Linked DNA regions of Homo sapiens: regions 1, 2, 3, 5, 6 and 7 are each linked to region 4. The links are contacts of gene promoters, found by promoter capture Hi-C in blood cells and fetal thymus (Javierre and others, 2016). All regions are on one chromosome and are shown on one strand. The core of a region is centred on a gene start or on the middle of the fragment in contact, and the rest is flanking DNA. Distances in the headings are between cores, read along the strand shown. Region 1 overlaps RHOBTB2-AS1 (RHOBTB2 antisense RNA 1). Region 2 overlaps RHOBTB2 (Rho related BTB domain containing 2). Region 3 overlaps RHOBTB2-AS1 (RHOBTB2 antisense RNA 1). Region 4 holds the start of CCAR2 (cell cycle and apoptosis regulator 2). Region 5 overlaps POLR3D (RNA polymerase III subunit D). Region 6 holds the start of RHOBTB2 (Rho related BTB domain containing 2). Region 7 holds the start of TNFRSF10B (TNF receptor superfamily member 10b).

Evidence for each region. Contacts are between HindIII fragments. The CHiCAGO score rates a contact against its expected background, and 5 or more counts as called.
Region 1: a contact is called between a fragment that was not itself captured here and the fragment with the promoter of CCAR2 in region 4, in 1 of 17 cell types (fetal thymus). The highest score is 5.8, in fetal thymus.
Region 2: a contact is called between a fragment that was not itself captured here and the fragment with the promoter of CCAR2 in region 4, in 5 of 17 cell types (naive B cells, fetal thymus, naive CD8 T cells and 2 more). The highest score is 7.0, in naive B cells.
Region 3: a fragment that was not itself captured here is called in contact with the fragment with the promoter of CCAR2 in region 4 in 1 of 17 cell types (endothelial precursors); the score reaches 6.5 in endothelial precursors.
Region 5: a fragment that was not itself captured here is called in contact with the fragment with the promoter of CCAR2 in region 4 in 1 of 17 cell types (endothelial precursors); the score reaches 6.8 in endothelial precursors.
Region 6: the fragment with the promoter of RHOBTB2 here is called in contact with the fragment with the promoter of CCAR2 in region 4 in 3 of 17 cell types (total B cells, M1 macrophages and naive B cells); the score reaches 6.2 in total B cells.
Region 7: the fragment with the promoter of TNFRSF10B here is called in contact with the fragment with the promoter of CCAR2 in region 4 in 2 of 17 cell types (naive CD8 T cells and total B cells); the score reaches 5.5 in naive CD8 T cells.

Annotation. Positions count from the first base shown.
Region 1 is chr8:22,978,659-22,982,363 of GRCh38, forward strand. The region is part of intron 1 of RHOBTB2-AS1 (RHOBTB2 antisense RNA 1); the gene reads right to left. It also overlaps a transcript of RHOBTB2 not described here. Among named protein-coding and RNA genes, the nearest start is that of RHOBTB2, 19 kb to the right of the region's middle. The HindIII fragment of the contact is 5,747 bases long and covers 1-3,705 here.
Region 2 is chr8:23,013,448-23,017,402 of GRCh38, forward strand. RHOBTB2 (Rho related BTB domain containing 2) reads left to right here. Exons shown (of 10, transcript NM_015178.3): 8 at 1,243-1,331; 9 at 2,191-2,296; 10 at 3,805-3,955. Among named protein-coding and RNA genes, the nearest start is that of RHOBTB2-AS1, 16 kb to the left of the region's middle. RefSeq lists enhancers at 880-1,644, 1,146-1,195. The HindIII fragment of the contact is 9,071 bases long and covers 1-3,955 here.
Region 3 is chr8:22,954,120-22,957,634 of GRCh38, forward strand. All of the region lies in intron 1 of RHOBTB2-AS1 (RHOBTB2 antisense RNA 1), which reads right to left. It also overlaps a transcript of RHOBTB2 not described here. Among named protein-coding and RNA genes, the nearest start is that of PEBP4, 28 kb to the left of the region's middle. RefSeq lists an enhancer at 3,129-3,515. The HindIII fragment of the contact is 3,199 bases long and covers 401-3,515 here.
Region 4 is chr8:22,602,790-22,606,538 of GRCh38, forward strand. CCAR2 (cell cycle and apoptosis regulator 2) reads left to right here and starts at 1,968. Exons shown (of 21, transcript NM_001393997.1): 1 at 1,968-2,053; 2 at 2,947-3,042; 3 at 3,296-3,387. The coding sequence starts at 2,985. It overlaps C8orf58 (chromosome 8 open reading frame 58), which reads left to right. Exons shown (of 7, transcript NM_001013842.3): 7 at 406-1,353. The coding sequence ends at 517. It overlaps LOC107986876 (a long non-coding RNA gene), which reads right to left and starts at 2,211. Exons shown (of 1, transcript NR_160769.1): 1 at 344-2,211. RefSeq lists enhancers at 1,686-1,795, 1,802-2,302 and silencers at 1,966-2,265, 2,326-2,385. The HindIII fragment of the contact is 4,257 bases long and covers 1-3,616 here.
Region 5 is chr8:22,251,500-22,255,281 of GRCh38, forward strand. It overlaps POLR3D (RNA polymerase III subunit D), which reads left to right. Exons shown (of 9, transcript NM_001722.3): 9 at 1-3,102. PIWIL2-DT (PIWIL2 divergent transcript) reads right to left here. Exons shown (of 2, transcript NR_134293.1): 2 at 3,077-3,407. Among named protein-coding and RNA genes, the nearest start is that of POLR3D, 8.3 kb to the left of the region's middle. The HindIII fragment of the contact is 2,212 bases long and covers 1,415-3,626 here.
Region 6 is chr8:22,998,298-23,002,327 of GRCh38, forward strand. RHOBTB2 (Rho related BTB domain containing 2) reads left to right here and starts at 1,251. Exons shown (of 10, transcript NM_015178.3): 1 at 1,251-1,808. It overlaps RHOBTB2-AS1 (RHOBTB2 antisense RNA 1), which reads right to left and starts at 1,508. Exons shown (of 2, transcript XR_007060857.1): 1 at 1,382-1,508. RefSeq lists silencers at 931-1,190, 1,411-1,580, 1,911-1,960. The HindIII fragment of the contact is 10,673 bases long and covers 1-4,030 here.
Region 7 is chr8:23,067,768-23,071,422 of GRCh38, forward strand. TNFRSF10B (TNF receptor superfamily member 10b) reads right to left here and starts at 1,264. Exons shown (of 9, transcript NM_003842.5): 1 at 984-1,264. The coding sequence starts at 1,127. It also overlaps the pseudogene TNFRSF10B-AS1. RefSeq lists promoters at 1-2,356, 1,124-1,794, enhancers at 648-907, 1,448-1,497, 1,518-1,687, 2,469-2,763, 3,085-3,584 and a cis regulatory region at 1,249-1,254. The HindIII fragment of the contact is 4,380 bases long and covers 1-2,546 here.

The DNA of each region.
Region 1 (3,705 bases), core at 143-2,642, 380 kb after region 4:
TAGAAGAAAGAAAGGAAAAAATGTTTCTGTATTTATTTCCTTTCTAATAAATTATAACTGCATGTTCATTGACTGTATTTACTTGCTAGAAATCATTTACGAGTAAATATCTGATAAAAAAGCAAAAAACATATAACAGTATATGACATGCAAATAGAATAACTAAAAATAGTTGGTATTCAGATGTTGAAATCATGTGTTTTTTTTAACTTAACTTCCTGTTATGTTTTCTTATCTTTGAAAGTAAGTTTAAAAGTTATTTACAGAAAGTAGTTCCCTGCCTGTCTTCCTTTATCTTATATATGGCCATGATGTATACATATATTCCCATCTTTATTAGAATCTTTTATGAACCAAGTTATTTAACATACCAAGTTGCAACTTTGTGTTTTGACTTGGTTAAATTACATTTTCTTTTATCACTGACCTTTGGGATGCAATAAAATAATTAAAATACTGTTCTTACCCTAAGAAAAACAAAATCCACCCATATTTGTTGCTTTAATGACATTTTACAAGGGAAATAAAAGATCTTTCCAAACATTTTTCTTTCTTCCTCCCTTCCTTTCAAAATAATTAATTTGTTTATTATTTTGGTAAATAAATAAATCTGTGCTTCTCTCAAACACTCCAATCTAAAAGTATTACATACATATTGTAAAAATCTGGAAAATATAAAAATACATACAGAAAAGAAAATTCTAAGAACAATAATTTTACCATCCGGAGATAACTACTTTTTATATTTTGTAATAGTTCTTTCTATCCTTTGTGTATGAATTTTTTTTGGTTTTGTGTACAATCATGTACTGTGGATGTGTGTGTGTGCACGCATGTACCACACAGATTCTATCTTATGGATACGCCATTATTTATTGAAGACATCCCCTCTTGGAGGACAGTTTATTTTTTTCTTCATTTTTTCCCCACTATCACTAGTGTTTATGACGTCCTATACATAAACCTTTTCCTGACTTGTGATTATTTCCTTAGATTTTGTTAGTAGAGTTTTCTTGAGCCAAATTATGGGAATTCTTTTTTTTTCTTTTTTCTTTTTTCTTTTTCTTTTCTTTTCTTTTCTTTCTTTTTTTTTTTTTTTTGGGACAGAGTGAGACTCTGTGACAGAGTCTCACTCTGTCACCAGGCTGGAGTGCAGTGGAGCGATCGCAGCTCACTGCAACCTCTGCCTCCTGGGTTCAAGCAATTCTCCTGCCTCAGCCTCCTGAGTAGCTGGGACTATAGGCGCGTGCCATCACGCTCAGCTAATTTTTATATTTTTTTAGTAGAGACGGGGTTTCACCACGTTGGCCAGGATAGTCTCGATCTATTGACCTCGTGATCCACCCTCCTTGGCCTCCCAAAGTGCTGGGATTACAGGTGTGAGCCACTGTGCCCAGCCAGGTATAAGAATTCTTTTAAGCCTCTTAATATATATGTAGAGAAGCAAAAAAGAAAAGTTTTCCTCTATCCTGTTAGGTTCATTATTTGAGGGCTGTAAATTGAACTGACAAACAGCAGATTAATAGGAGAAAAAAAGGTTTATTTATGTGCACGTGGGAGTCAATAAAAGAAGTAGCATATATCATCTGATTAGTTTCCAGATATATTTTGCTAATTTACACTCCTACTAAGCAGAAGGAGTATTATCACTCTTTAAAATCCTCACCAATTTGATAGGTTAAAAATTAATCTAATTTTCACTTTAAAAATTACTAAGTAAGGCAAAACCTTTTTAAATGGTTGCTTCTATATTTATTTCCTTTTTCATGAATTATAACTGCATGTTCATTGCCTATTTTTACTTGCTAGAAATCATTTACTAGTAAATTTAAATCCTTCAGATTTTACGTATTCAATTGTTACATTAGAATATTTATGAAGATAAACAGTGAAAAACTTGTGTATTTACCTTACCAGTGTGAAGAGAAATAAGAATTCATTTAATCACCAAATTCCTTAGTAATTTTGAAAAACAGAAGGGCCAGTTCATTTAATCGGGGCAATTTTGATTGTTATGCTAGCTGTCTTCAAAGTGAAATTCTGAACTAATGTCCAACACCAAGTTTTTTTAAAAAACAAACTCTGTGGATATTTAAAATCAGAGCTCTAAATTCCAAGGAATCTTTTCTTCTAACAACTTTGTGTGATGTCCCAAATACTTTAGAAATCCCAAATTACAACTTCGTGTTTCAACTTGATTACATTAAGTGCACCTCACCCCATAGCCGTGACCCAAAAACAATATTTTTAAATTTGCTCTCATCTCCTATATTTAACTTTCTCTTTCAGCCACAGCCAATCAAAAGAAAACACCAAATTGCTTGGTGATGTTTCTTCTTCCAAGTATGATACGTTATCTGTTTGTAGAGATTAAAGCAAAAGAATTTGTTCACAACTTTTCCAATTTTAAACCACCAACTGATTTGTCTCTGAGATTTATACAAGTATTTTCCAGAATTCTATTTCAGTACATATAAAAGGTCTGCTTGTCAGATTACATATTCTTTTCTTACGATCTCATTTCCTGTTGTAAAGCAAGTTGTCAGTGCCTGGCACACCTGCCAGAACTCATTCAAGAAATGCTTACTGGCTGGAGTTGATTCAACCACCCAGTAAAAGTGAAATGTTTCCTTATCTCTGGTTGTGGTGACAATCATTTTTAAACCTAGGCTGAATTTTATCGATATTCAAAAGAAAGAGAGCTTGGATGAGTCTGGGGGAGCTACCCGCAGCTCATTCCTGGTGTAGGACCCCCTCACCCTGGCTACTGCTCTTCTGTACTTCAGTGGAGCCCTGAGACATTCTCTCGCCAGGGCAGGCCCCTCTAGACTGTTGTAAGTAGGCTGGTTTTGAGAGCTGGGTCTTTTGCCAAACAGATTCATTTGAATAAGACACCAGGTCCTTGCCTCGAATTAGGGAATTCAGGAATTTGCAGCTGTGGGTAGTCCAGGCTTCTTCTGTGGGGGTTGAAAGAGGGCAGAGGTGGGAGGTGGGGTAGGGGTGAAGCTGAAAGGGACAGAGGTGGGTGCAGTCAGCTGCCCTGTCCCCCCACTGCCTGCCCCTGAAGCAACTCAGTGTGTTTTCTTGGTGTGCAGAATGAGCAATAGGCCCACTCCTGGCTGGCATACTCTTACAGCAAAGTGCCAGCTTTTCCAGACGAGTTTAGGGTCTCAGCCTGGCCCTGAGCCCAGTCAGCTGAGCACCAGCTGCAGTGGCGCCTTGCTGCTGCAGCCTGGGCGGTTCCATATCCGCCACTTTACACTCAGGTGCAACTGGCCACTTTGCCCACCTGCCCCCCGATACCAGGCGCCCCTACCAGGATCTTAAGGCCCTCAATGTATAAATGGTGGTGACCGTTACCAGAGAGGCTGAGTCCTGGGACCTGCCCAGGCATTTCTGCAGTAGACTAGAAGAGAGCAGCCACCTGCTTGCTCCAGTGACCTCTGGCTCTGTCCTGCCACCATTGCAACTAACCCAAGTGCAGGAAGACTCAGAGGCCACTGGTTCAGTGCCTCCATCCCTATGCCATCAAGTAGCCAAGAAAGGGCCTGGGCAAGATGACAGTGTGTTTTAAACCCGTTCTCCCTGTCTCCTGGCCTTCCCACCTGCTGTCGGGACACACTGCTCTACCATCTCCTTCCAATAGTCTTCTTGCCACTCCTCATTCTCAAATCTTTCTTGGCCAGGCTCGATGGCTCATGCCTG
Region 2 (3,955 bases), core at 1,159-3,658, 410 kb after region 4:
AAGTGTGTGTCATTAAACACTACAGCATGGTTTTTTGCATTATTTTTTACTTTTATTTTTTATTTTTGGAGATGGAGTCTTACTGTCACCTGGGCTGGAGTATAGTGATGTGATCTCGGCTCACTGAAACTTTCACCTCCCAGGTTCAGGAGATTCTCATGCCTCAGTCGCCCGAGTAGCTGGGATTACAGGCACGTACCAACACACCCGGCTAATTTTTGTATTTTTAGTAGAGACAGGGTTTCACCATGTTGGCCAGGCTGGTCTTGAACTCCTGGCCTCAAGTGATCCACCCGCCTTGGCCTCCCAAAGTGCTGGGAGTATAGGCGTGAGCCACCGTGCCCGGCCAGTTGTTTGTTTTTGAAGTATTATTATGGCCCCTTAGATTTGAACATTCTTGATTGGTTTCAGTTAATTGCAGTTATCCTTGCTGAAGCTCAAATCCTGCACTCTTTGGCTTGACTCCAGAGTCTTACGAGCTTCCTCTCTATCTGGAATGATGAGATGTTCTAGGTTCCTCTTGAAGGTTCTGTGCCCCAGACCTGGAATCAGCCATTTCTCCAGGAAGTCCTAGTTTCTTGTGTTGGAAGTGGAACTGGTATTTGTGTGCACTAGGAATGCTCATTGTACTGGGATGACTGTTGTTTCTAGGTCTTTTCTGGGGGCAGAGCTGGGAAATATATTGATCTTTTTAAAGATAAGATACCTCATGAGTTTATACTGATACTTCTAATTAAAATTCAGAACCAAGGGTGTTTACTTCTTCAATATAAGTGTTTTAACTTAAAATACAAGGTTAGTACACAATTTTTTACAAAATTTAAATTAAAACAAACAACTAGACTTAACTCCTAGTTCTAACTCACAGTTCTCAGCCTTTTTCTGTGATCAGCAGACATGAGGTTTCACACACTCTCCCTTTTGTATCAGAGGCTGGTTCTGTTGGGAACTTTGACCCTACCTGTATCAGATTATGTCACGGGACATACGTAGTTTGAAAAATCCTCTTAGGTAATTCCAATGTCCTCCTTCTCTTCCTACCCTACCCCGTTGAGCTCTTGCTGTCATCCCTGGGGTCCCCCTGGTGGCAGCAGACGTCATAGCCTGGGGCCTTTCCTGGCCTGTCCGGACCTGCCCGGGCCCTGGTTTTCCTCACCCTGAAGTGAGCTGGGGGATGTGGTGGGGCAGGGTGAGCACAGGTCATGTGCTTCTTCAGCTGATTGGTGGCCGTGTGTGTTACAGAGCAGTACACAGTGACCGGGCTGATGGAAGCGACCCAGATGATGGTGGACATCGATGGGGACGTCCTTGTGTTCCTGGAACTGGCTCAGGTATCATGGCAGGGGAGGGAATCTACAACAGTCTCAGTTCTACACTCTGCCTGCCCATTGGCTGCGAATGGGAAGGGGTGGAAGATGGTCTATGCGGGAGAACCTGTCATCGGACTGGGCTCTTTGACTGCGCGTAGCCCATCTCCTCCTCCATGCCAGGAAGCAGCTGGGGAACTCCCTGGTGTACCCGGAGGGGAGCTGACCAAGTGGGGAAGGGATGAGGCTTTAGGCAGCAGTAGGGCTGGGGAGGGAACCCCAGGCTCAGGCTTACACATGGTTGCTGCCTGCCTGAGGTCATTTAAGGGGCACTGAGGACTTTCCATCTGAAATTAACCGCCTACTCCCTTAATCCCAAACAAACAAGCCAAATCTCCCACAGTGGCCTTCACAGTGCCAGAAATTCAGCCACCAAAGATTAGTGTGTGGAGTGGAAGCACGGCTCAGGCAGGGCTTGCAGACACCCCTGGGAAGGCAGCTCCCTTAGCTCATTGTCAGTGCCTCCGTGCAGGCTGCCTTGATCCCAGATGTGGAGGAGAGAGAAGTCAGGTAGGTTGAGATCTGAGGAGGGCAGATGCAGTATGAAGCCACTACATAGGGCTCTGGTGTCTGCAGCGAGGATGCCAGGAGTGGGCAGAACAGAGGTGAGATGATGGTGGTGCTGGCGGTGGTGCCAAGGAGCCTGAGGCAGCATCATCATCCTCAGTTTTGTGTGGCCTTGCCTCTGGCGCAGGCTCTCTAGAACTGCAGGGCCTCTGCGTGCCCTGCACCAGAGCTTCAGCTCTGAAGGCAGCTGGAGGTGTCTATGCAGACCCTCTCCCCTGGGGATTTCAGTACAGACGTTCTTCCCTTCTGTCCCCAGTTCCACTGTGCGTACCAGCTGGCCGACTGGTGTCTCCACCACATCTGCACCAACTACAACAACGTGTGCCGCAAGTTCCCCCGAGACATGAAGGCCATGTCCCCAGGTGAGCATCGGGGCCAGTCCTGGCAGTACCTGCTGCCCTCCCCTTAGGGGTGCACAGCTCCCATGTAATCCCAGGGACCCCGAGGCTGCCAGTAATCCTTGACCTTGGGGCTGGGAGCAGCCTGCAAAGGAGCCTCCAGCCAAGCCAAGGGGCCCCAGGAAAAGTGCTGGCCTGGAGGGCAACTCACCCTGCCTCTCTGGGCTTCTCATTCTCAGAGGTATGAAGAGGATACTGGACTAAAGTTGGTAGATTTCAGACTTTTCTGGACAGAATACCGTAAGAAATACATTTCATCTTGTGACCCAGGACACATATAGGAAAATATATACATCTTTCTAATGCTGCTCATGGCCCACTAAATTGATGGTACAACCCAGGAATGGGTACAGGCCACAGCTTGGACCACCCAGGTCTGGGCATCCTCTGAGGCCTCCTGTCTCTTCTTGATTAATTTCTTAGGCCCTAGAACTCAACAGAAACTGCACAGGCTCCAGGGAGAGGTGTCCCTGGCCTCCCTGAAGGGTCTGCCACTCTTTCCATGGGGTCCTCTCTGGGCTCCCTCCAGTCTGCCGTGACCCTCCTCCCTGCTGCCGTGTTTTTGCCTCATGCTGCCAAGTCTCCACCCCGATCTCTCCTTTTCACTACTACAACACTTTTAAAAAAAAATTATTTATTTATTTATTTTTTTGAGACAGTCTTGCTCTGTTGCCCAGGCTGGAGTACAGTGGCACAATCTCGGCTCACTGCAACCTCCACCTCCTGGGTTCAAGTGATTCTCATGCCTCAGCCTCCCGGGTAGCTGGGATTACAGGTACCCACCACCATGCCTGGCTAATTTTTTGTATTTTAGTAGAGACGGGGTTTCACCACGTTGCCCAGGCTGGTCTCAAACTCCTGACCTCAGGCAATTTGCCTGCCTCGGCCTCCCAAAGTGCTAGGATTATAGGCATGAGCCACTGCACCCAGGCTAGCATTTTCTTTCTAAAGCACAGGTCCAATAGCATCACTCCCTGCTTCCAGACCTTCCACTGAAACAGTAGTCTTCCATGGCCCCCCATACCCTGCAGAATAAGGCCAGCCGTTCCTCTGGTCTGCTGCTGTGTCCTGCTGTGTCCTGACTCCGTATTCCCCCTCGGAACCTTAGCTCTGGCCAGAAACTTCCACTCTCATCCCCTAACCATGCTGAGTATCTCCTGGCTGACATTCGCTTACCCCTTCTCCCTTATCCTTCGCCTCTGTTTCATTCCCAACGCACAGGAAGCCCTTGTCTAGATCGCCCGTCTTTGGAAAGGAACCCAGCTGGAAAGGCCTTCCCCAGTGCTGACTTTCAGCCCTGCTCTTTGGGAACTTTGCTTGCCTCGGAGGCTCATGTGCCGTGGGTCATGGGGATGTGCTGGGGGCTGGGCTGGAGGCCTGCTGCAGGCCTTGTGGTGGGGTAGGGCTGGTGTCCCACGTTCCTCTTGTCCCTCTGCCTCCTTTCTAACCAAGCTGCCTGCTCTCTGCTCCAGAAAACCAGGAGTATTTCGAGAAGCATCGGTGGCCACCTGTGTGGTACCTGAAGGAGGAAGATCATTACCAGCGGGCACGGAAGGAGCGTGAGAAGGAGGACTACCTCCACCTCAAGCGGCAGCCCAAACGGCGTTGGCTCTTCTGGAACAG
Region 3 (3,515 bases), core at 750-3,249, 350 kb after region 4:
AACACATGGTAGATTTTTTATTTAACTCACCATTAATGAGGGAACTGGTAAGATCTTACAAGGGCAATCCAAGGAATGGACACATTGATAGATCAGAGATATTGACATGAACATGAAAATGGCAGCAAAACTAACTGGCTTCTTCCACAGCAGGAAAGGGAATGTCAGTTGAAGCTCCACCAGACAGGTTTTTTTTGTTTTGTTTTGTTTTGTTTTTGTTTCTGTTTTTGTTTTTTAACGTATGTATAGACAAAAATCACTCTATTGGCTGCTAGTTATCTACAATGTATAAAGTTGTAAAATAGCTTAATTCAATGAATCAGAGAACCTGGAAGAATGAGCTCTAAGCTATGTATCGTTTTCTATTGCAGACACTTAATAATCTTTTTTGTTTATTACAAGCTTCCTTGGCAGTGGTGACATTTCAAGTGAATAGGGAAAAGGACACACTATCCAACAAATAGTGTTGAGACAATTGGATTCACTGTGAAAAAATAAAATCATGTTGTGATGCCATACTTTAAACAGAACAAATTTCAGGTGGATTAAAAAATGAAATATTAAAATGGAAACTTTTAAATCTTTAGAATAATATGCAGGAGAATATCTTTAGTACCTTAAGGTAGGGAAGGAAATATGACAGAAAAAAAACCACAAACTGTACCAAGGAAACCATAGATTTGACTATATCTAAAACAAAAACCTTTTCTTTCGTCAAGATGCCCCAGATGGCTGGGTGCGGTGGCTCACGCCTGTAATCCCAACACTTTGGGAGGCCGAGGTGGGCAGATCACTTGAGGTCAGGAGTTTGAGACCAGCCTAGCCAACATGGTGAAACCCAGTCTTACTAAAAATACAAAAATTAGCTGGGCATGGTGGAGCACGCCTGTAGTCCCAGCTACTTGGGGGGCTGAGGCACGAGAATTGCTTGAACCAGGGAGGCAGAGGTTGCAATAAGCCGAGATTGCACCACTGCACTCCAGCCTGGGTGACAGAGTGAGACTCTGTCTCAAAAAAAAGAAAAGATACCCCAGATAAAAACTATTGCATTGCCTATGGCCAGTAAAGGATCCACTTTCCCAGAATGTATAAAGAGCTCCTGCAAATCAAATCAGAAAAAAATCAACAACCCAGCAAAAGCGGGGAAGCTCTAGGAAGAGACTGTGAGTGCAAATGACTCCGCACTGCAGTAGCCCCTGCACCGCCTTTCGGAAGAGCACTTGCATCCCAAACCATTAAAAGGAACCTACTGGGACAACTGTGGCCCCCGAGGTTTACCGAATGCCAAGTTTATCCCCACTCTGGCTCCATGTCCTCCAGGACTCTAGACCAATGTACAGACTTTAACAATTGCAGTTGCTTTGAAGATTCTCACTGTGGAGGTCAATTCTGCTTCCATTGTGGAAACCAGGATCTCATCCATCCATCAATTCATTCAATAAATCTTTTTTTTTTTTTTTTTTTTTTTGAGACAAGGTCTCTCTCTGTCACCCAGGCTGGAGTACAGTGGCATGATCATGGCTCATTGCACCCTTGACCTCCTAGGCTCAAAGGATCCTCCCACCTCAGCTTCCCAAATAGCTGGGACTACAGGTGTGCACCACCATGACCAACTAATTTATAAATTATTTGTAGAGATGCGGTCTCATTATGTTGGCCAAGCTGATCTCAAACTCCTGGGTTCAATCAGTCCTCCTACCTTGGCCTCCTAAAGTGCTGGGATTACAGGCATGAGCCACTGTACCCAGACACTCAACAAATCTTTAGTGCCCACTCTGCGCTGGGTATAGAGGATATGGAAGGATGCCACCTCCTGGAGCTTCCCCCCAAAGGCAGATGAAGAAGTTAAATCCCAAATGGAGACGGGCACTAAGGAAGGGCTCTGGGACCCTACCTATGCTCACCTTTGGTTTGCCCCTCAACCCACCCCTGTGAGTTCATGGGGTGTATTTTTTCCAATTGATTCCATACTTTCAGAGAAGTTACACAAACAGTACAGAGAATTTTCAATATACCTTACACCCAGCTTCACCCAATAATAACTAATGTCTTGCATAACTGTAGAACAGTTACCAAAGCTAGGACATTAGCCACAGAATTTATTCAGTGCTCACAAGTTTTCCCGTTATTGTCTTTTTCTGTTTCAGGTTCTGATATGCTTTGGATTATGTCCCCACCCAAATCTCATGTTGAAATGTAATCCCCATTGTTGGAGGTGGGGCCTGGTGGGAGGTAATTGGATCATGGGACCAGTTTCTTATGAGAGGTTTAGCACCATCACCTCAGTGCTGTTCTCATGATAGTGAGTTCTCATGAGACCTGGTTGTTTAAAAGTGTGTAGCCCCTCCCCCTCCTCCTCCTGGTCCAGCCATGTGAAGTGCTCACTCCCCCTTTGCCTTCTGCCATGATTGTAAGTCTCCAGAGGCCTCCCCAGAAGCCAAGCAGATGCCAGCATCATGCTTCCTGTACAGCCTGTGGAATCATGAGCCAACTAAACTTCAATTAAACCTTTCTAAATTACTCAATCTCCAGGTTTTGTTTGTTTGTTTGTTTGTTTTTGAGACAGGGTTTTGCTCTTGTTGCCCAAGCTGGAGTGCAATGGCGCAATCTTGACTCACTGCAACCTCCGCCTCCCGGATTCAGGCAACTCTCCCGCCTCAGCCTCACAAGTAGCTGGATTATAGGCATGCACCACCATGCCCGGCTAATTTTATATTTTTAGTAGAGACGGGGTATCTCCGTGTTGGTCAGGCTGGTCTTGAATTCCTGACTTTAGGTGATCCACCCGCCTCGGCCTCCCAAAGTGCTGGAATTACAGGCATGAGCTACGGTGCCCAGCCTCAGGTATTTCTTTATAGCAGTGTGAGAAAGAATTAATACAGCTTCCAATCCTAGATCCACACTGTAGTCAATGTTACACATCCTTAGTTAGCCCTAGTCTGTTCTTCAGTCTTTCCTTGTCTTTCATGACCTTGACATTTTGAAGGGTACTGGCTAGATACCTTGCAGAACTCTTCCTCACAATTAGGTTGAGGTGATATATTATTGCAGAGGATGCCACAGAGATGATGAGCTCTTCTCGGTGCTTCAGATCAGGGGTGTGGGATGCCGATGTGTATTCCTGGTGAGGCTGATCTTCACTGCTTGGTTAAGGTGGTGTCTTCCAGGATCTTCCACTGTAAGCTCACTATTTTGCTCTTTTGTGATCACTAAATATTTGAGAGGAAATACTCTGAGATTATGCAAATATCCTCTTTCTGCTTAAGTTTTGCTTTGGGCTGTTTTTCAAACACATCCCTGATTTGGGCTTCATAAGCCTGATTATCCCCGACAGCCAGCCCTTCTTGGCTACTCAGCTGACAAAGGGCACTTGCTGCCCCTTTTGTCCCCTGCCCACAGGCACAAAGAAGCCACGCTGTTCCCACCTGGGGCAGCATGTGTGTTCCTGGACCAAACTGAGGGTTGGGCTGCTTGTTCTTGTGGCCCAATAACGAGATGCAGATGAACTAGGAAAG
Region 4 (3,749 bases), core at 718-3,217:
ACACCCCATTTACAGATAAGGAGGCAGGGTTCTGGGTGGGGTTGGGGGTAGTTGCTTTTCCAAAGCCGCACGGTGAGTCAGTGACAGCTAGGACCAGAATGTGGGAAATCTGCCTACCCTAGCTCAGCAACCCCTCACCCTCAATGCTGACATTTAGGCCACCTTCCAGGTTCGTGGGGAGAGCAAGGTGGAGCACAAAGGATTTCACAGTGGGTGAAGGCCATCATGCTTCGGGGCTTGTATTGAATCGTTCTCCAGGAGGAAGAAATACCAAGTCATTTAACAGCCCCGGGCTGCGCCCACACCCAGCTACCCACCAGCAGATAAACCACGTTCTCTCAACTCTAGGGCCATTGTTAGTTTTATTTCCCCCTTCTAGCCTAATGTCTTCTTTTCATTCCACAGGATCGAGTCCAGGGACCTCCCTGAAAGGCCTCAGTGCCGCCCCCACCGGAAGACCTTTATGCCATCATTAGTGGTTAAGAAGCAACGAGCAAAAAACCTTTCTGTAGGCTGAGACCTCTCGGTGCACCTGGTGACCCTGGGTGGAGGGGACTTGCTGTGAAGTCTTCCTCGCCCTCTGCCCTCTTGCTGCTTCTCCACATTGCCAGGAAAAGCTGCTGACGCCTGCCCTCCTCTCTTGAGTCGAGGGCTGAATCTTTCTCCTCTAAGCAGTCTGGTCAGGAACCTTGGTTTCTTGAGAGGCCCCCAAGATGCCGCAGCTCCAGGGCTCTTCCTCCTCACCAGAAATCCCTGGGCTTCCACAATGTGAACTCACTCATTGTCAGGTGTCCGTGGAGTGTTTTTGGCATGGTGACCTGTCTGGGCCCAGCATGTTGCAGATGTGTATTTATGCGCAATGGTATGCATATCTCTGTGTGACTGTCAGTGTTGCAAGCTGGCTGGATCCAACCATCTCTTCTGAAATAATGCATCCAAAGGGTTGATATTCTGGGGGAGGTCACTGCAGAAGGATGGAACTGACCTTTATTCCCCAGTGGGCAGTTACTGAGCTTTCCTCCTCAGAGCCATGCTGGCAGCCCTGGGACAGAGAACGGTGTGGCTTTGGCTGCCTCTGCATGGAATCTTGCCCCGGACTCCTGAAGACTGCACAAGGAATGAGGAAGATCAGGGACAACCTGGGAACTGAATAACTTTCAAAGCCAGTGCTCAGCTTCTCTGCTCCGTACTAGCGTTTACAGGTCTTAATTCAAACCAGATGCCTGTACTAGTTTTTAGACCCCAAGTCAACCTTTCTGAGCCACAGCTTCCCGCTGGGAATAATGATGCCTGCCCTATCTACCTCACAGACTTGTTATGAGGATAAAGTGAGATTAAACTGCCTCAAAGTGCTTTGTAAACCTCAGGTGAATAGGAAAGGGGAAAGTAAGGCTGGAGTGATGATGGGGAGGTCGGAGGATAAGGGGGGGCTGGGATTGCTAATGGGGACTAAAATGGCCAGTCTCCTGGCAAGATTTTGAGCAGGTCATTTCATTGAGGCCTCTTAGATTTCATATTTGAGAATTAGGGCACTGATTCCTGACTGGCTAGGCATGGTGGTCACTGGCTTGAGTCAGACCAGGAATGTCTCTTAGAAATGGTCACTGATAGGCATCCTTCTCCTCCAGTCAGGAGGGGCTGGTTTCCTTATCTGTTGCAGTCTCGACTGCCAGAGGGAGGCGAGCGTGGTAGGCAGTCGGGGGTCCCTTGTGTTTGGGGGGCCCAGCTCCCGCTTCCTTTGAGCCCGGAACCAATGATCCGAAGCCTTCTTTCCTGATGGGATTCTTTAGCGAGGACACTACCGAGGCGCGACTTCCTGACGCGCATCCGATCCGGGAAGGCGCACTTCCGCTCCCCAGTTGCCGCGGGATGGCAAGCCGGCGTGGGGGAAGGGAGAGGTCGGCGGAGACGAGGGAGGGACCATATCCGGGAGAGCGGCAGCTTCCGACCAGTGGTCGCGCTTCCGGAGAGGCGCTTCCGGTGGCGGCGGCAGCAGCGGCTGTGGTGGTTCCGGGTGTCTTTGTCCCCCCGGTGTCGCTGCCCTGGCCCGCAGGTGGGTTGGGGGGCCCCCTGCCGCCCCTCTGCCCCTTCGCCCCTCCGCCCCTCCGCTGGCCGAGGGGCTGCGAGGGCCGGGCGGCGAAGATGCGTGGGGCGCGGAAGGGGCCGAGCCCCTCTTTGGACTGCAAGTCCCGTCTCCCTGGCAACGGCCTCGGCCTTGGGGGCGGGCGGGAGGAGGAGAAACCGCGCGCCTCAGTCCTCCCTTGGTGGCCTCGCCGCGGCTCTGCTGGGAGACCCGGCGCTGGCGGCTGCTGAGGCCGGAGCGGAGGGCCCGGGAGCGTGGGAGCAGGAGGGTGGCGCGCAGCCGGTTTCGCGTTTGGTCGGCCAGGGAGCTGCCTTCCCACCAGCCGGTCGAGGAAACAACGGGTCGGGCTTCCGGGGAGAGGGCCCACACAGTCTCCTCGCCGGCACCGGCCTCCTCCATTTTTCCGGGCCTTGCGTGGAGGGTTTTGGCGGATGTTTTTGAACGAAGGAATGTCATCGGGGCTCTCTCGAGCCCCTCACCCCGCCAGCTACTCTGGGGGTGGCGTGGCATAGTGAGAGGAGCGCTAAGTTGTTGGGAGGCCTGGGTGTGAGTAGCAGTTTTGTCACTACCTGGTTATGTGGCCCCGGGCAAGTCTCTTGATCTCTCTGAGCATCAGTTTCCTTGTCTGTAAAACAGCATGACAGTATCATGCACCACTAGGTTATTGTCAGGGCAAACTGGAACAATGTAATTTCTTGTTTCATTTCTTTCTTCTCTATATTCTCTCCATCCATTGCTTTCATTCATTCTTATTACCCACCTCCCTGTTTTCCGAAATATCCTTACTTAAGATTCTCCACTTTTCCGGGTATAGATGGAAATTTCCCTTATAAGCTGTTAATTTCTTTCTTTTTGGATTGAAGCCTTTTCCCCACGACTCTGAAAGAGGACAGCGTTCCCAATGTCCCAGTTTAAGCGCCAGCGGATCAACCCGCTTCCAGGGGGACGCAACTTCTCAGGTGATCACTGTTCTCCCTACCTGGCCTCATCCTGGGAAGTATGTGCTCTGGAGTTAGTTTGGGGTTTCCCTGGTGGAGAGCAATTTGCTGCTGATGTTCCTCTGGAAAGCAGGAGATGCCCACAGTGATTGCCAGTGAAGCTCTGTGGAGGAGCTGGCTGGAGCTGTAGCCTTTGGATTTACCACATCCTTTGGTTGACTCGTGCTTAAGGTGGTAGGGGCGGTTCCTGGAGATTGCTTCTCTTTCCCCATAGGCACAGCTTCAACATCTCTTCTGGGCCCTCCTCCTGGTTTGCTCACTCCTCCTGTGGCCACAGAACTGTCCCAGAATGCCAGGCACCTTCAGGTAGGTTCGGCATCCCTTGTAGTAAGTTTCAGCCCTTGGGACTGAATGCATGGAGGCCTGGTGCTCTTTTTCTCTTACATAATAGTGTTTATCATTCCTGATCCCTCTCCTGGTAGTGGGCTAGTATGGGGTTGCCCAGATAGCCTTCAGACTGGGGCATCTTCATTTCTCGCTCCAGGGAAATCTTTAGCTTACGTCTTGGAATTAATGAACTGGAAATCCCAGAAGAAGCTTGTGGGTCAAGAACCAGCTCAAACATGCCCCAACCCCTAATGATGGAGTATGCCCACCACACCTGTACTTCACTCTGTGCGAACTCTTGATGCAGTACGCTGAGCTGGGGCGTGGGTTGAGATGAGACC
Region 5 (3,782 bases), core at 1,271-3,770, 350 kb before region 4:
TGAGCCGAAGTCATATATTGCTAACAAAAAAACTAAATCCTTCATAAGAGAAGTTAGGGATGTATTGAATAATGGCCTCTTTGACACTTGGCCGATGATGCCCACTTCAAAAACTTTGGGTTTCAGAGGCCTGCCCGTCTCCTGTCCTAGCACTGCCAGAGCCACCTACTCAGTGTTACTTTTTTGGGTCTGTGATCCTGTTCCCTTTACCAGGTCATTGTACTGTGTTGTCCCTGGAGGAACAGCTTCTCCTCTTGTCTTGACAGTAGGGCTGGGGTTTTCCCTGGTTCAGCTGGGGAGACGTTTGCAGGTTAGAAAAAGGTCTCATGCGGCAGCGTGTGTGGCTGTTAGACGCTGATGGCACAACTTCCCTTTGCTGGCGTCGTGGCACCTGGCCTCTGGGACAGTATGAACCATAGGGGCTCAGGAAGAACCGCTTCCCCTCCACCCCCATCCCTGATTCCTAGTGGCCCCTTAGATTTTGGGTACATCTTCCTTCAGGCTCACCTTCCTTCTTTTCAAAGTTCCTCAAGCCTGTTACTCATTTGTCAAGGCTGGGCTTCTCCTACAAAGCCCTCAACCTGCCCAGCCAGCAGCTGTGAGGCTGACTGAATATTTGGTGACCATATCACCCTTTCTGGTGCTGAAGCTCATGTCAGCTCCATTGGACAGTGTTATTCTGGGCTCTTCTCACTGTAGAGGACTGGAGCAGAAAGGGTTCCTTGGAAACCTGTGCTGGGAAGCCCTGTTTGGTCTAAGGCTAAGCTTTGGTTAACTCTGGGCTCCAGCCCTTTCTTCCTTTAAATAGCTGATGCACGGCCAGCAGGTCTCCATTCTCATCCTCTCTTTCTATTCTGTTTCTTTGGTTCAGAAATACTCTTCTGCTTTTTTTGGACGAACTCAATGGCCCGATGTTAGATATTGGGTATTTTTCAATCTTCTGTTTTCTGACCCTTCCAAGAAAGTTTGAGGAAGAACATGTACTGCTTTCACGTTCATTTCGCCCATTCAGATGTCTTGGCTTGAACCTTATGACTCCGTATCAAAGTCCTCACAACCTGTCTCAGATCCCTGATGCACAAATTAGGTCTTATTAATAAGTGTGGGAAAAGAGAGGAGAGTCCACCTTCTTGGTCAGGCCCCTGAGGCATGCATTTCTACCAAGGAATATGGACAGATGACAGAGGAGAAGAGCCCAAAGCCAAATTTATACATGAGTGCAAGTGGATGCAAATTTGTTGCTCCCTGCATCTGTGTATATGCTTTCTGTTAAATACAGAAAGAAGGAACAATAGGCTTGCACACTTTTCTAACTACATGTTTAAGTGGCAGAGTCCAGGCTGTCGAGTCACGGTTGGGTTTGAATCTGACTCCACCAGTAACTTTGGTTGGAAAAAATCACTTATCCTCTTTAAGCTTGATTTTATTTATTTTATTTTATGTAAGAGTGAGACAGTAGTAGCTTAATAGGGTTGCTTTTAAATTAGAGTGAACATGAGGCATTTATTCGGTGCCAGACAGATAACTGCCTATAACAGGATGTGATCAGCACAAGTAACAGAAAATTAGCCTGACGGTGGCTTAAGCAATGGGAATGTTTATCTCACATAGCAAAAAGTCTGTAAATAGATGGTTCTAGAGTTGGGTGGAAGCCAAAATGTCATCAGGATTTCCTTGGAACCGTCTGCTTTGCCATCCTCAGTATTGCAGAATGGCTGCTCCTGCGCCAAGCATCATTCTGCAAATGATGGTGTCCACAGCCAGAGTGGACAGTAGTACAGGAGCCTTCTCATTCTGCCCTTATCCGGGAATAACCGTCAGCAGCTCCAGCAACCTCCCCCCTGTCTCTTTATAGAGTGGGGCCACGTGCCCACTCTTGGACCAGGCCCTGGCAAAGGGGGATGGGTCGACTAGTGTATCCCCTGGCACTGAGCACACTTGCCCTTGAGCTGGGGTTTTGTTAGTAGGGAGGAAGCTGGAGTGGCAGTTGGATAGACAATTCATAGTAGCTGCTGCCATGTTCAAAAAATGCTGCAATGTAAAATCATAAAGTATTCATCTAGGCATAACTTTTTAAAATATTCAGTCACCTTTTATTCTACTAAAATCAATTTTAACATTTTAGTGTATATTATTTTATTTTAGATTCAGCAGGTACATGAGCATGTTAGTTTTGTTTTGTTTTGTTTTGTTCTGTTTTGTTTTTTGAGATGGAGTCTCACTCTGTCGCCCAGTGGTGTGATCTTGGCTTACTGCAACTCTGTCTCCCAGGTTCAAGTGATCCTCCCGCCTCAGCCCCCCAGATAGCTGGGATTACAGGCACATGCCACCACACCTGGCTAATTTTTGTATTTTTAGTAGAGACGGGAGTTTCACCATGTTGGCCAGGCTGGTCTCAAACTCCTCACCTCAAGTGATCTACCTGCCTCAGCCTCCCAAGTGCTGGGATTACAGGCGTGAGCCACTGCGCCCAGCCACATGTGCGTGTTTGTGTATATTGCGTACTGGTGGGGATTGGGCTTCTGTCATACCTATCACCCAAATAGTGAACATTGTACTCAGGTAGCATTTCAACCCTTGCCCCCCCTCCCACTCACCCCCTTTTGGAGTGCCCAGTGTTTGCTATTTCCATCTTTATGTCCATAGGTACCCATTATTTAGCTCCCACTTATAAGTGAGAACATGTGCTATTTGATTTTCTGTTTCCGAGGTTAGGATAATTACCTCAAGCTCCATCCATGTGGCTGCAAAGCACATGATTTCATTGTATTTTATGACTGCTCATGTATATTATTTCAGCCTCCAAAATTTTGTATGTTATTTATAATGATATAAATTATGTGGTTTTATCGTGTACTCTATCTCACTCAGAAATACATACAATTCTTCGTTCCCAGCTACTCTGGAGCTGAGGTGGGAGGATCACTTGAGCCCAGGAGTTCAAGACCAGCCTGGGCAACATGGTGAAACCTTGTCTCTGAAAAATAAATAATACACACCCACATGCACACACATCCAGTTCTTCCATGTTAATGAGTATGTTGTGTTTCACATACTTCTGAATTAGCCGAAGGAATTAAAGGTAGCATCTTTTAATCCTCAGACTGCCCTGCGTGGTCCGATTGAATTGGGCAGTCAGCACTAGGCTCTTCAAAGGGAAACAGGCTTCTTTCTTAGGACGGTGCACAGTGAAAGAGTGGCACACACGCTGTTCATCCAGTGCTCCAACCCCCAGTCCTGGTGTCAGATACTTCTACATTTGGGGCATTTCCCCTTGAGATGGCTGTGGCTAGCGACACATGATGTGAACACCTCTCTTGGATTGTGGTTCGGCCGCACAAGGCCCCATCAGAGTTCTACAGGTGGAGTGTGGGGCCCAGAAGGGGCTCAGGTCTTAGGGGTGTCATCTGAAAAAACAGAGATGGTGATGGGACACCAGTTCTAGGAGCCCTCTGCATGGCCACTTTCTGCCTCAGCTCTTCTAAAGCATTTCTTCTGTTCCCTTCCATTGGGGTAACCACTGATCTGTCTTCCCAAAAACTGAGTCAGAAGTTGGACTTTGTTACTTGGCTCATCTACATTTAAGATATAGTCAGAAAAAAAATGCAGTCTTTACATCTTAAGAAAGCTTACATGGGCCAGGCGCAGTGGCTCACACCTGTAATCCCAGCACTTTGGGAGGCCAAGGTGGGCGGATCACCTGAGGTCAGGAGTTCGAGACCAGCCTCAACATGGAGAAACCCCGTCTCTAGTAAAAATACAAAATTAGCTGGGCGTGGTGG
Region 6 (4,030 bases), core at 1-2,500, 390 kb after region 4:
TTTGCATTTTCAGAGCACAAGATGGAGGAGTGGTGGAGGCGGTTCAGGTGGGTGGCAGGCTGGTCTGGGCTTTAAAAATTGTCCAGAGGTAACTGAGGAGATGAATCAAACCAGACTGAGCTGACTACTTAACACTAGCAGTCAAGATCATCCTGGCTGGGCATGGTGGCTCACGCCTGTAATCCTAGTACTTTGGGAGGCCAAGGCAGGCAGATCACCCGAGGTCAGGAGTTCGAGACCAGCCTGGCCAAGGTGGTGAAACCCCGTCTCTACCAAAAATACATAAATTAGCTGGGAATAGTGGCGTGCACTTGTAGTCCCAGCTACTCGGGAGGCTGAGGCAGAACTGCTTGAACCCAAGAGGCGGAGGTTGCAGTGAACCAAGATTGCACCACTGCACTCCAGCCTGGGCAACAGAGGGAGACTCAAAAAAAAAAAAAAAAAAAAAAGATTATCCTGATAAAACCAGCCTTGAATATGGAAAGTGTCTTCTAGGGACCCCTCAGGTTATAGATGTTATACCTTAGAATCTCTCTATTTTACAGAGGGGTAAATTGAGGCAGAAAACCCAAAGAAGGCTTAGGGACGATTTTCGAGGCTACTCACTTCATGGTGTTTCTTTCAGAGATTAGCAGCTATTACTGAACTCCAGGAGGCAACAGGAGGGGGATGGGATGGAGGTGGGGACCCGCTGAAGAAGGCCTAGGTGGGAGACAGGTAACGTGGTACAGGTACCCACCCCACAACTCATTAAGGGCCATGGAGGGAGGAAGGCTCTCAAGTGCCACGAAAATTCCCAAAGCAGCAGAGGGCTTGTATGGAAACGCCGGTTATTCGTCCCTACCCGGCCCCCGCCCCCCGCCCCCCCGACTGCCCCTGCCGTCGCCTCCCCGTGGGCAAGTGGTGGGGGCCTGGGCTTACAACCACACGTTCTCCTCCAACTAGCATCCCTTCCAGGGTGCACTAGGATGCCTCTCAGAGGTTCTCCCCCGCCTCCCGAAGGAAAGGGGAAAACCCCGTGGGCGTCCGGAGAGCCTTTGCGCCTCGCCAGGTGGAGGGACCGGCGCCACCCAGACCCGCGAGCCGAGACCCTCCCCGCGGCGTCGCTGCGGGAGGGGCGGAAGAGCGCGGGCGGTGGGCGGGAGCGGTGCTGCGAGGCGGGATCTGCGGGGCGTCCAATCCCCTTCTTCCCCCGCCCGCCCCCTCCCCGCCCCCCGAACGCTTTCCACCAACTGCGCGCGGCAGTGGGCGGGGCCCGTCACGGCTGTCGTCTTGGGTGCGATTTTTTTCTCCTCCTTTTTTTACCCTCCCGTTTTTTTCTTTTCTTTTTTTTTTCCCTATCCTTTTTTTGTGAATGAAAAAAGGAGGTCGCGAGCGGTACCTGGGACTGCAGCGCCAGGCGTCTTCGCGGCAGCGCCTTCGCCGCGGGCCCGGGCGCGTAGCGGCGGCGGCCTCGCCCCTCTCCCGGCGCCCCTGCGCGCCGCCCGCTGCCTCCGCAGCCCGGCTCCGCGCGCCGCCGTGACATTGGGCGCCTGGCGCGCGGGGCGATGCTGATCCGGAAGGGGCAGCGGCTGCAGTGCAGCGCGCGCGTCCGCTCCTGGGCCCACGTCCGGCCTGGGCTGCCCTGCCGGAGTTTCTGAGTGGCCGCGAGCTGGCCGGGAGGCTGGAGCCCAGCAGCAGCGCGGCGGCGCCGGCGTCGTCCCAACTTGCAGGCGCGGAGGGACCCCTGACATTTCACTAAAATGAGCGTGCTCAGCAGGAAGAGATGTGTTCCTCACGCTAGAAGCCACCCCGTCACATGTAGTGGTGTAAGTAGATGGCTGCTTGCGGTTATGGCGGGGTGGCCAGCAGCCCTTGCAGACGCGCCGCTCCGCCCTCCCTGCCCTGCCGCGCCCCTCGCTACGTTCCCCGGGCCCCGCTAGTCCCTGGGCTCTGGCTTCGGCTGCTGGGTACAGCGGGGCTGGAGCCTAATCCTTTCCGGTGTTTCTAGGGAAAGGAAGATGACTTGATTGCTTCGGCCTGTCGTGCCCCTCCCCCTTCTCGATGTTTAAAAATTTTTAAATTTCTATTTTGTGTGTGTGCAGAGTAGCGTGTCAGAAAAAAGGAAAAACGGTCCAGAGTGGTGGGAGTGATTCTGTTAAGAAAACAAACACAAAACAACAGTGGAATTGGGGTGTTTTGCTGGCGGTTCCGGAGCTGGTTCTTTGAACTCAACTCCATTGCAGTCTATGTAACTGAGTTCTGTGAAACTACTGGGGAGATCTTTGGCGGTGTTTGGTGATGTGTCCACATTTTAGGTTTGAGGGGGCTTATCTGTGTTTAGGCTTGCATTTCTTTAATCTGACCATTCAGGGTCCCTTTGGGCCTTGCTTTCTGTTGGATCTGCACGGGGCTTCTTGCAATGCCAGCGACCCCCGTGGGAGCCTCCCCGAATTAGGAGTCCACTCTCTCTTTGTTCTTCTCCTTCCAATTCTCCATTCAATCCATCTCCCTTGATTTTACCTTCATTTTCAGGATTTTCCTCCCATTCCCATTTTGTAAGATGATGTGGGATACTGGTTGCTAGGAGACAAGCCAGGCTCCCAGGGAGATTCTGTTGTTTCCTTGACAACCAGACTAGGGCAGCCACAGATGAACAAGCCTCCTATCAGCTGTGGGAGGGAAAGGGGCCCTTTCTGAGCTCTGCAAAGAGTGTGTGTAGGGGTGTGGGGGTGGGACTGGGAGAGCACGAGGTTTGTAGCTAATTTCAGCACACCTTGGGTTTTGGCTTGCACCAAGTACAAAGAGCTGGGAGAGCGGTGGGCAGGAGGCTGTTTTTGGAGGGGCACAGGGATCATGGGACAGGGATGGAAGGAACACATGCCAGTGACTTTGCGATTGTCATGGAAGAGGAGTGAGTTGGGGGTTGTGATGCCCAGGGCTGGGTGGTGAGGAGGTCATAGTTTATGGAGGTTGATTGAGTGGGGATGAGGCAATTGTGAGGGAGAGTCTGGAGTCAGGGAAGAAGAGAGAGCCGGAGGGAGAGGGGAAGCTGAGAGGCTCACTGAATGGGCTGTATCACCATATATCAGCAATGAGTGGGCTGTATCACCATACATCAGCAATGATACAACATCAGCAACATCCTAGGGCAAAAATTATATTACTCTTGGCACACTCTCTCCAGGACAGGATCCTCCTTTAAGACAGGCCTGATTAGACTAAGAGTTCTAACACTTGAATTGGGCCAGTCTGTATCTTAAAGACAGATATAATTACACATATAGATATGCAATCTAGCATTATATAATACCACATTACATAAGAAGACAAATACCTCCTTTCAGCCCAGCCTCTCTTGGCACAAATTAACCACGGTTCAGGAGACTCTTCCAATGTCTTCATACCCATTTCCCAGAGGGGGAGACTGATGCCCAGAAAATATAAGTGACTTGCCTCTTCCTAGATAGGACAGTGAAGTTTGCCAGTCAGGCAGTTGGGACAGGGTAGAAAGGGTGAGATGATACAAACAGAGAGGCAGCTGAAGGACAAGGGGACTGCTGAAGGGGCTGGGGAATGGATGGAAGGGGTTGCGCAACCCAGAAGGTCTGATGTCTAAACTCATGGCACAGTATTTGTCAATTTCCACTTGTTGATTGGCTGACCACTGCTTAACTCTAGAGGTGACATAGCACAGGTGGGCAGCAGTGTTTTCATCACAAAGTAGCTGAACTTGGCCCAGCACTGCTCTGCTGGTGTTCTGGCATTATTCTCACTGTCAAGGTGCTCCTGAATTTGAGAACTGGCATCCCTCCATTAGGCCTCCTCATTCCCCCGCTTCTGTCTACAGACCTACATGCTGGGAGAATCGGAACTTGAGAAAGAAGTTCTTTTGGCTCTTGGGTTTTAATCTTTATCCTCCAGCTGCACATATTTTGTATTTGGGATTATATCTGTTTTGGTATTCACTCGACAAAACAGAAACCACAGCCCAGATGCTGCCTCCTGGCGCCAGCACATTCCTCAACTTGAGATCAGGAACTGTCAAAGT
Region 7 (3,655 bases), core at 14-2,513, 460 kb after region 4:
CAACACCAGCATTCTCTTGACCTTCCTTTCACTGTTCCTCCTCTCCCTTCCAGCCCCTCTGTACAGTCTTGAGTTAGGTCTAGGCCCACACACTTCCCCACTCTGAGCTGCGGTCTCTTCCTCTGTAAAATGTGATGATTCAGAACCTCTCCTGGCCCCAAGCGCAGTTCCAGGCGCTGAGCACACCATGCTGTTCCCTACAAAGCCGACTCTTTGTCCCTTCCCCATTATCACGGATACTTGCCAAGAGGTGGCAAGAAAGGCTCTTCCCAGGCCAAAATGCAGCTGCTATTATCAAGCAGGTCAGGCCCCAAGTGCCACAACTCCCTTCTCCTAAATCTCGTTTTCCCAAGGAACCCCAAACAATGGCATTGGCGATGAGCGGCCCCGCACGCGTAGGGGCGCAGCCGCTAAGGAGGGGAAGGGGCCTCTCCAGCTGCGCCCGCGACGACTCCCGCGCACGGAACGGAACCACTGGGCCGCAGCGACCACAGGGGAGTTCTTCGCCGGCCGCAGGTTCAAAGCGATCTGCAATGAGCGCCTTTAGGAATTCATTCGAAGGCGCAAAAGAAAAAGAAATTAAGGCAGGAACTGAGCGAGGAAGGAAGGGAGGGAAAGAAAGGAAGAAAGAGAAAAAGAGAAAGAAACAGAAAGTAAGGAAAGAAAACAAAATCAAAGTCCGACGACCTCTCCGTGGCTTCACGCAGCTTACTCGGGAATTCCCTCCTTGTCGCCCTCCCCCACTGGATTCGGGAATTTACACCAAGTGGAGCGCGCGCTCTGTTCCCTGGCGGCCCAGGTCGCTCCTGCCCAACCCGGGGACCCATCTCTTCCCCCGACTCCGACGACTGGTGCGTCTTGCCCGGACATGCCCGGCCGCAGGCGACCCGGGCCACGCACCCCCGCCGTGTCCCCCTCTCTCCCTGCCCTCTCCAGGCGCCAGGCACGCTCTTCCCCAGCCAGGGACCGCGGCGGGGACTCACCAACAGCAGGACCGCGGCGACAACGAGCACAAGGGTCTTGGGGACCCGGGGCCCAGGCCTGGCTCCCCGCGCCTCCCTGGGTCCTGGGCCGTGCCTTTTCCGGGCCCCCGAAGCGGCCGGGGCGTTCTGTCCCCGTTGTTCCATGGCGGTAGGGAACGCTCTTATAGTCTCTCAGGCCCGTGGGTTTCAGCCCTTAAAGTAGATCGGGCATCGTCGGTGTATTTTGTGGGCGCAGAGATTGCGGGGTTCTCCGGCCGCGTGCTGATTTATGTGTCCAGGCTGACTTGGGGCGGCGCGGCTGTACTTTCACTGCCTCCGGGCAGGCGTCATTCGGGGCGGGGCGAATCAGATCCAATGTGCAACTGCAAATTCCACCACAGGTTGGTGACAATAAATAAGAGTCTCGTCAACGCAATCCTCCGCAAGCGCGTCCAAGTGGGGAGGGGAGGGGAAGGGACCGGAACTAACCTTCGCCCTGGCGGCTGCGCCCCGGGCTGTGGTTTGTTTCTGGGTCCTGTCCGCGCCAGGACAGGCACCGAAACTTGGGGGAAATGAGTTGAGGGAGGCACTTGGGGAGTTGACGCCTCCCGGGGTCGCGCGCTTGGCTGTGAACAGGGTCTTGAGGTTCAGAGTCCGCTTTCCAGGCGCGTCTTGATCTTCTCCCCTTCCCAGGGGCACCTGCCCCTTCTGTTCTCTCCTTCTCTCTTCTTTCCTTTTTTCTTTCGTTTTCTTTCGTTCTTTCGTCTTCTTTCCGTCCTTCCTGCTTTCTCTTTCCTTCCTTTCTCTCTTTCTCTTTCCTCCCTCCCTCCCCCTCCCCCTACCTCCCTTCCTTGTGGTTTATTTTTTGAGACAGTCTCTCTGTGGCTCAGATTGGTGAGCGGTGGTGTGATCCCGGCTCACTGCAACTTCCGTCTCCCAGGTTCAAGCGATACTCCCACCTCAGCCTCCCATGTAGCTGGGACTACAGGCCTGCACCACCACGCCTGGCTAATTTTTGTATTTTTAGTAGACACAGGGGTTCACTATGTTGGCCAAAAGACCATCGAACCCAGCTTACACTCACACCTAGTCCACAAATGTGCCTGTGTCCCTGCACCCTTGCTACACTTAGCTTTCATTTGTCACTAGTCTAGGAAATAAAACATGATACATCACATTGTTATGTATTTTCATTCCTTCATGGTACTGTGTCCGGAATTGGTGGGTTCTTGGTCTCACTGCCTTCAAGAATGAAGCCTCGGACCCTCGCGGTGAGTGTTACAGTTCTTAAAGGCGGCGTGTCTGGAGTTTGTTCCTTCTGATGTTCGGATGTGTTCGGAGTTTCTTCCTTCTGGTGGGTTCGTGGTCTCACTGGCTCAGGAGTGAAGCTGCAGACCTTCCCAGTGAGTGTTACAGCTCTTAAGGCAGTGGGTCTGGAGTTGTTCTTTCCTCCTGGTGGGCTCGTGGTCTCGCTGGCTTCAAGAGTGAAGCTGCAGACCTTCAAGGTGAGTGTTACAGCTCATAAAGGCAGTGTGGACCCAAAGAGTGAGCAGTAGCAAGATTTATTGCAGAGGGAAAGAAGGAAGCTTCCACAGTGTTACCACTGCTGGCTCTGGCAGCCTGCTTTTATTCTCTTATCTGGCCCCACCCACACCCTGCTGATTGGTAGAGCGGAGTGGTCTGTTTTGACAGGGCGCTGATTGGTGGTTTACAATCCCTGAGCTAGACACAAATGTTCTCCACTTCCCCACCAGATTAGCTAGATACAGAGTGTGGACACAAAGGTTCTCCAAGGCCCCACCAGACTAGCTAGATACAGAGTGTCAATTGGTGCATTCACAAACCCTGAGCTAGACACACGGTGCTGATTGGTGTGTTTACAAAACTTGAGCTAGATACACAGTGCCAATTGGTGTATTTACAATCCCTTAGCTAAACATAAAGGTTCTCCACGTCCCCACCAGACTCAGGAGCCCAGGTGTCGTCACCCAGTGGATCCCGCACCGGGGTTGCAGGTGGAGCTGCCTGCCAGTCCCGCGCCGTGCTCCCGCGCCGTGCGCCCGCACTCCTCAGCCCTTGGGTGGTCGATGGGACTGGGCGCCCTGGAGCAGGGGGAGGTGCTCGTCGGGGAGGCTCCGGCTGCACAGGAGCCCACGGAGGGGGTGAGAGGCTCAGGCATGGCGGTCCCGAGCCCTGCCCGTCGGGAAGGCAGCTAAGGCCCGGCGAGAAATCAAGCGCAGCGCCAGTGGGCCGGCACTGCTGGGGGACCCAGTACACCCTCCGCAGCCGCTGGCCCGGGTGCTAAACCCCTCATTGCCCGGGGCCGGCAGGGCCGGCCGGCTGCTCCGAGTGCAGGGCCCGCCGAGCCCACGCCCACCCGGAACTCCAGCTGGCCCGCAAGTGCCGCGCGCGCAGCCCCGGTTCCCGCTCGCGCCTCTCCCTCCACACCTCCGTGCAAGCTGAGGGAGCGGGCTCCAGCCTTGGCCAGCCCAGAAAAGGGCTCCCACAGTGCAGCGGTGGGCTGAAGGGCTCCTCAAGTGCCGCCAAAGTGGGAGCCCAGGCAGAGGAGGCGCCGAGAGCGAGCGAGGGCTGTTGAGGACTGCCAGCAAGCTGTCACCTCTCAGTACTACGGATTTTCAAGAATACAGGAGTTTTTGGTACTGGGAGTAGATGACTGGGGGGATCCAGGCAAG